Regions from separate parts of the Homo sapiens genome. Here region 2 is linked to region 1. The links are contacts of gene promoters, found by promoter capture Hi-C in blood cells and fetal thymus (Javierre and others, 2016). All regions are on one chromosome and are shown on one strand. Each heading gives the region's core, a stretch centred on a gene start or on the middle of the fragment in contact. The rest is flanking DNA. Distances are from core to core; before and after follow the strand shown.

Evidence for each region. The method cuts DNA at HindIII sites, captures the fragments that hold promoters and counts their contacts. A CHiCAGO score of 5 or more calls a contact.
Region 2: a contact is called between a fragment that was not itself captured here and the fragment with the promoter of PMAIP1 in region 1, in 8 of 17 cell types (M0 macrophages, megakaryocytes, fetal thymus and 5 more). The highest score is 17.2, in M0 macrophages.

Annotation. Positions count from the first base shown.
Region 1 is chr18:59,898,319-59,901,901 of GRCh38, forward strand. PMAIP1 (phorbol-12-myristate-13-acetate-induced protein 1) reads left to right here and starts at 1,678. Exons shown (of 2, transcript NM_021127.3): 1 at 1,678-1,917. The coding sequence starts at 1,860. RefSeq lists an enhancer at 767-1,518 and silencers at 1,275-1,684, 1,835-2,044. The HindIII fragment of the contact is 10,069 bases long and covers 1-2,766 here.
Region 2 is chr18:60,547,812-60,551,454 of GRCh38, forward strand. No RefSeq gene overlaps it. Among named protein-coding and RNA genes, the nearest start is that of MC4R, 180 kb to the left of the region's middle. The HindIII fragment of the contact is 906 bases long and covers 1,700-2,605 here.

The sequences.
Region 1 (3,583 bases), core at 428-2,927:
TGAACAGGAGCACCCTAGGTTCCTCTAAAGGGTGTGGCTTCGACCACACTTCAAACCTAGTTTGCACTTTTGGAAAATGGATCCCACGTTGTCAGAGATTCTGGTTTTCCAAGAGATGCTGGAATCTGGGTTTTTCATGCAATCCCTCAATGTTTAAAATGTTGGTAATCAATTCAAATTTTTACAATACATTTTGAAGGCCAATACTGTAAACCAAACTAAGCACTTCTAGGGAGCCCATGCAACGAATTTGCAATCTTTTCATTAAACAGCACAGCTAATATGAAAACACGCTTTTTTTTTCTTTTTCTTTTTTGAGACAGAGTCTTATTCCGTCACCCAGGCTGGAATGCAGTGGCGCGATCTCGGCTCACTGCAACCTCCGCCTCCCAGGTTCAAGCGATTCTCGTGCCTCAGCCGCCCAAGCAACTGGGACGACAGGCGTGCACCACCAAGGCCGGCTAATCTTTTGTATTTCAGTAGAGACGGGGTTTCACCATATTGGCAAGGCTGGTCTCGAACTCCTGGCCTCAAACGAACCACCCGCCTCGGCCTCCCAAAGAGCTGGGATTACAGGCGTGAGCCACCGCGTTCGGCGAAAACACACATTTTCTAAGAAACTGATTGCTGGGAAGGCTACAGTGGGTAAGAGCTCTTGCTCTCTGTGGGCCTGCCTGGTTCGGAATCAGGGCAGTGCTCTCTGCCTAAGTGAACTTGGGCAATTTTCTACAAACCTCAGTTTCTGCACCCGTAAAGTAGCAACGGTTGTTCTGAGGACGGAATGAGAAAATGCATGTCAAAGTCCTTAGCATGAAGCGGCTCTCAGTAACCGTTAACCACTCCTAATTACTCCTCTTCATAATAGTAGAATTACTCATGGCCTCGCCAAACATTATGCAAATAATTTCACGTTCCCAGGTAGCTCAGCCCTCCCACAAAAGATTTGAACGTTTTCCATATGATAACGATCCACTCGTTTTTGCTAAACATCCACAATGGGCGATATCGACCTATCTGGAAGGACACACACAAATCCCTTCCCAACTCAAACACGATGTTCTTTCTGGCTGGCACCAGGGCTTCTGTTTGCAGTGACTTCCTGGGACCCGGAGCTTTCTCACAGGGCCTCTGGCATCTCCTCTGCGGTGATTAAGGTTCTTCTCATTTCCCTTCCCTGTTACTGCCCATACTCTTCAAGTTCGAAAAGTTTCCTTTTCCAATCTCTTTTCTGGGCTTGTTTACCCAAGTCTCTAATTGCCAAGGCCTCTGGTCTCTCCCCACCCACAACGTTCCTCCTGGTTAAACCCTTCCCCTCCCGCCACTCCCAGCTCCCGCCACTCCCAGCTCCCGCCACCACTGCCGCTGACGACGTCCAGCGTTTGCAGATGGTCAAAGCCGACCCCCTTCTCCTCCCACCTCGTTTTGTAAGGAAGTAATTTCGGGGCCGAGCGCTCTGCGCCCCCCGCCGCGGGTCGGCGCCGCCGCGGGTCGGGAGCGTGTCCGGGCAGGTCGCGCTCAGCGGGGTACTTCCCCGCCCGCGTCCCGCGTCCGCTCCCATAACGCCGTCTGCGGGGCGGGGACAGGGGCGGGGACAGGGGCGGGCCGGGCGTCTAGTTTCCCTACGTCACCAGGGAAGTTCTCACTGGACAAAAGCGTGGTCTCTGGCGCGGGGATCTCAGAGTTTCCCGGGCACTCACCGTGTGTAGTTGGCATCTCCGCGCGTCCGGACACCCGATCCCAGCATCCCTGCCTGCAGGACTGTTCGTGTTCAGCTCGCGTCCTGCAGCTGTCCGAGGTGCTCCAGTTGGAGGCTGAGGTTCCCGGGCTCTGTAGCTGAGTGGGCGGCGGCACCGGCGGAGATGCCTGGGAAGAAGGCGCGCAAGAACGCTCAACCGAGCCCCGCGCGGGCTCCAGCAGGTACCGACCCGCTGGGGCCAGCGAAGACCCAGGCCGGGCGGGGTCGGGGCCGGGGTCGAGGTCTCGGCTGGGGCGGGCTCAGCTCGCCGGGGCTCAAGCACAGACTGCACGGGGGTCAAGGTCGGGCCAGGTCTGTGCCCTGGCGCGAGCCTTAGGGGCGCCTCCAGAAAGTTCTTCGGGGTTTTTCCCCAGGACCGGCGGGTACGGCGGGTACGGCGAGGGACCAAGCCGGATTTGCGATTGGGATGCAGCTGCGTTTCACCAGGGGCAAAAAGCTCCTTTCCTCCTCTCTTTCCTCCTCGCCACTTGCCCTTCCCCGGGGCCACGAGGAACAAGTGCAAGTGTAGGCGGCTGTCTCTAGGAGAAAGTCATTGTCGCGGCAGAAGGGGCAGGAGAGAGCCCCGGGGACCGCCTGGACTCCCAGCGCTTCCAGAGACGGCCCCACAAGGGCCCCTGTGTTCAGGAGCCTAGAAAATCTTGTAACATTTAAATAATCGATATTGTGGGAGGTGGGGATAGGAGAATAGGAGTTAGTCCGCTCCTTTTTTTCATTCATTCATTCGCACTCCCCACCCCGATACATACAGCTCCATCGTAAGTTTTCAGGCCAGCGCCCCGGCCCCATGCTTTTTCTAAATCTAAACAGAGAACCCAGTCACTGCCCAGAGCCCGAAGTCTGTGTGGGCCATACTGCTGTTGCATCAGACGATTATACGCCCCCCCCACCTTTTAAGTTACTTTCATTTTATAGAGCTCCTGGGGCGTGCGAAGGAAGTGGTGCATTGCAAATGTGACCATGCCTAAGTTGGTAACAGGCTGCTGTCTCTGGCGCTTGTGTGGGATGGAAAAAGCTTTGTCTACCTTTTGTGATGTCTTAGGATTCTGACCTTGTTTCTTTCTGAAGGATCTTACTTATGCATAGCACTTTCTGGTCCGACTTAATTCCCAAGAACAGGAAGCAGCACAAAGTCCCTCTTAAACTTGATTTGATTGATACTAATACATTTATAGGTGTGTAATGCAATTTTTAAAAAATTAAGGAAATGACCGGGAAGTATTTTCTGCCTTGTTTTCTACATTTTTGGTGAAAGGGATAACTTTTCCACTTAGAATTCAGGGCTTCCAGTGTCGGACGCTGAATGGTATTTGGTTTTTCTTTTAGAACTGTATATTAATATATCTCAATCTCTGTAGACAACATGTCTATGTAAATACTTCCCAACATATTTGATCTTGTAGCCCATAAAGAATAACACCTTAAGGGATTTATTAGGTCTCTTGGTGTAGGAGTTAGGAAAGATTTCACTCACTTCTTGTAGAGAGAAATTGGTTGAAATATAGGTTTAAGATTTTGCTTTACTATATATTGACAGCTTTGATTTATTTTGAGCCTAAATACGGTATTTTCAGGGTCGATTTATAAAATAGACCAGATTTTAATTTGTAATCATGATTTTTTAATGTTTGTAATCATGAAGTGTACCCGAAAGACCTCAAGCTGCTCTTTGAAATATTCAAGAAAATTGAAATTATAGTCAGTATAGATACGATATTATAGTCAGTATAGTGTTAACTGCACTTACTGAAAAAAAGTGTACTTGGAAATTATAAGCATCATTTTTCTTAATATTCAGTTAGAATAACTCAATTCCAAAAAGTAGTAAAC
Region 2 (3,643 bases), core at 903-3,402, 650 kb after region 1:
GGTGCCAAAAACAGAAATGTACGAATTCTGTTCCTGTTCCACTTTACTAAGTGTGTCTATTTCCTCCTGGGCTTGTGCCTTTGATTGGGAAGGGATTTTTTTTTTTTTTCCATTTTTTAGACGGAGTCTCACTCTGTCGCCAGGCTGGAGTGCAGTGGCTCAATGGCGTGATCTCGGCTCACTGCACCCTCTGACTCCCTGGTTCAAGCGATTCTCCTGCCTCAGCCTCCCGAGTAGCTGGGACTACAGGCAAGTGCCACCACGCCCAGCTAATTTTTGTATTTTCAGTAGAGACGGGGTTTCACCATGTTGGCCAGGATAGTCTTGATCTCCTGACCTCGTGATCCGCCGGCCTCGGTCTCCCAAGGGAAGGGATTTTACCTAAGCCTGAGATAAAGAAAAACTGGTCTGGGTTCTGGGGCTTTTGGACTTAGCCTACATGAGTGTAGCTCTCAGGTGTCTGGCAAGAGGTTGACACATCCTCACAAATAACTGTAGAGGATGATAGAACATGCTCTGTGGGAGAAATAAAAGAGAAATGATTGATTTCAGTGGAGCAAGAGAGAAGCTGTAGTTTATAGGTACCAGATGACTGGGAGCGATTGGGAATTTGTGCTGAATATTAATAGTTTGGTAGAATTTTGACTTGAGAAGGAACAGAGTTAAGAACACTCATCTCATTCAAAGGAGGACACTAGATTTCAAATATCTGCATCAAAAAATGAGTATTATGAACAAATTGAGGCCAATACATGCCATCCCCAGAATGGAAAAATGTATATCACCAAACTCTTTATAAATCTCGCCTACTGATTGTGTTAATAATTTGTTTTTTATACAGTTTTTATTATTTTCTAGTTGACAAATAAAAATTATATATATTATTTACAACATGTTTAAAAATATAAATACATTGTGAAATGGCTAAATCAAGCTAATTAACATATGCGTTACTGCACATGCCTATCATTTTTCACCTTAAAAAGGCATAGAAGCAGATAATGGAATGGTGGTTATCAGTGGCTTCAAAAAGAGAGGGGAGTGCCGGGCGCAGGCCTCACGCCTGTAATCTGAGCACTTCGGGAGGCCGAGGCAGGCAGATCAAGAGGTCAAGAGATCAAGACTATCCTGGCCAACATGGTGAAACCCATCTCTACTAAAAATACAAACATTAGCTGGGCGTGGTGACATGCTCCTGTAATCCCAGCTACTCGGGAGGCTGAGGCAGGAGAATCGCTTGAACCTGGGAGGCGGAGGTTGCAGTGAGCCGAGATCGCGCCACTGCACTTCAGCCTGGGAGACAGAGTGAGACTGTCTCAAAAAAAAAAAAAAAAAAAAAAAGAGGGGAGATTTGAATGTGTTGATCAAAGGGTACAAAATTTCAGACGGGAGGAATAAATTCAAAAGTCCTGTTGTACAACATGGTGACTGTAGCAATAATAACATATTTCATTCTTAAAAATTTCTAAGGAAGTGGATTTCAGGTTTTCTCATGACAAAATAATTTTATTATTTCACTATCCTGTTAAAAAAAATCCCTTTAAAAGTGATAATCTGATTTTCCTAAAATACACTGTAAGAGGAAAAAACAGTGTTTTGAATATCAAATTGTCAAAAAACACTTGATTTTTCTAGTCTAGTAAACAAAGTGAAAGCAACTGATTCTACTGAGTTAATTTCTTGAATTTCATCATCTGTAAGCTTCTTACACAGGATTGTAAATACAATAGCGCCCTCTATGGCTCATTCTCTGTGCAGAATTCCAGCATTTGAAACGAAGAAGGCAAAATTGTTCTTAGATTTATGACTGTTCTCAAAATAAAAAAGTAGTTATATAATCTTTTAATCTAAATTATGTAAATCTGAATATGTAATACTTTTAAAATAAATATATTTTCTGGTCTCCTAAGAAAATGAATGTCATAAATAGGGTCCTGGAAAAATTTTAAGGTGTATACATTACATTTAAATATTATTTAGATATTTCCAAAACTGCATTTGAATTACAAAAACAATTGGAGTTCTCTTCTTTAAAAATGTAATCTCTAAAGTTTGTCATGTGCTTAGAACTAATGGAACTAGATTTTCAGAAAGGTTCCTCTGATATTAAAATCTTTCTCTCTGAAACCAAGTCACTCTCCAGTTGCCAGCTGCTATTAGTACTCATTACTTAATATCTTAATCTATTTAGAAATACCATTCTTTTCTGGATGATTTCTCCTAGTAAAAGTGACATAGCTGTTTCATTTGACAGACTCCATTTTTTTAACAACAAATGTACTTCAAATATTTTGATTTTAAAGGATTTTGATGTGTGATTAAGAGACATGTTAAGCAAAACCAATTCAGTTAGTTCCGAACTTGGTGAATTTTCATTGTGGCCGAATCTATATGTATCAACAGTTTCCATTAGATGTGAGACTTTTTTCTCAGCTTTAGAGACATTGTTTTCATAGCAAAACCTTCAATTCTTACAGAAGCAGTTCAGAGGCGTAAATGAATTTAGGAAAACAAAAAGAGATAATGGATTCACTCCAGATTATTATTATTAAGTGCTTAATATATATCACTGCTTCTCTGGGAACTGGAGCCACAGAAGTGAATAAGCTTAGAACATCATAGCTCTCATGGGGAGGTGAGAGGGGGGTGTCCAGACAATCAACAGATCAAGAATGAAATTGATTTTGTACTTTCCAATACTTTTGAGTGTCCTGAGGAGTTCAAACATAGTGGCATGACAGAGAATGATGGGGTTAGGATAGTTGGGAGTAGGCACTTTAGATTGGATGCTGTTAGAAGACAATTCTGAGATGAGGAGATAGAAATACTCAGTGTTACATCAGGACTATTAGTGTGGAATTATTTCAGTATAATTTTTGTTATTCTCTGCTCCACAGGATAAAAGCCAGGAAGCAGTGGACACCGATATGAGGAAAACTTAAGATTATAAATGGTTGTTATTTTTAATATTTTACCATTGGATTTAACATTTAATAATTCTTTGGAGACATATAGATTTTAAAAAGGAAAGAAAAAAACAAATGCCAACATTTACTGCCTTTTTTTTTTTTTTTTTTTTTTGACATGGAGTCTCTCACTCTGTCTCCAAGGCTGGAGTGCAGTGGTGTGATCTCGGCTCACTGTAACCTCCGACTCCCAGGTTCAAGTGATTCTCCTGTGTCAACCTCCAGAGTAGCTGGGACTACAGGTGCATGCCACTATGCCCAGCTAATTTTTGTATTTTTAGTAGACACAGGGTTTCACCATATGGGTCAAGCTGGTCTTGAACTCCTGACCTTGTGATGTGCCCACATTGGCCTCCCAAAGTGCTGGGATTACAGGCGTGAGCCATGGCACCCGGTCTCATTTACTGCTTTTTGAAGAGTTGAACTAATTAAATACTCTGAAAGTGAAAGTATCAGATTTCTCCCATTGGAATCTAATATAACATGACTCTCAAAATTTTTTAAAGTATAAATCTAACCCTGAATACTTATTCTTTTGTCCATGAAAGATTATCAAATATTTTATTTACCTTGTACATATAAATTAATAAAAGTAAAGATACAATATGTGAAACCACATACATATTTAACAAAAGCAAGTGCAGACTATTACTGTGGAGAAAATGGAAGCAATGTGA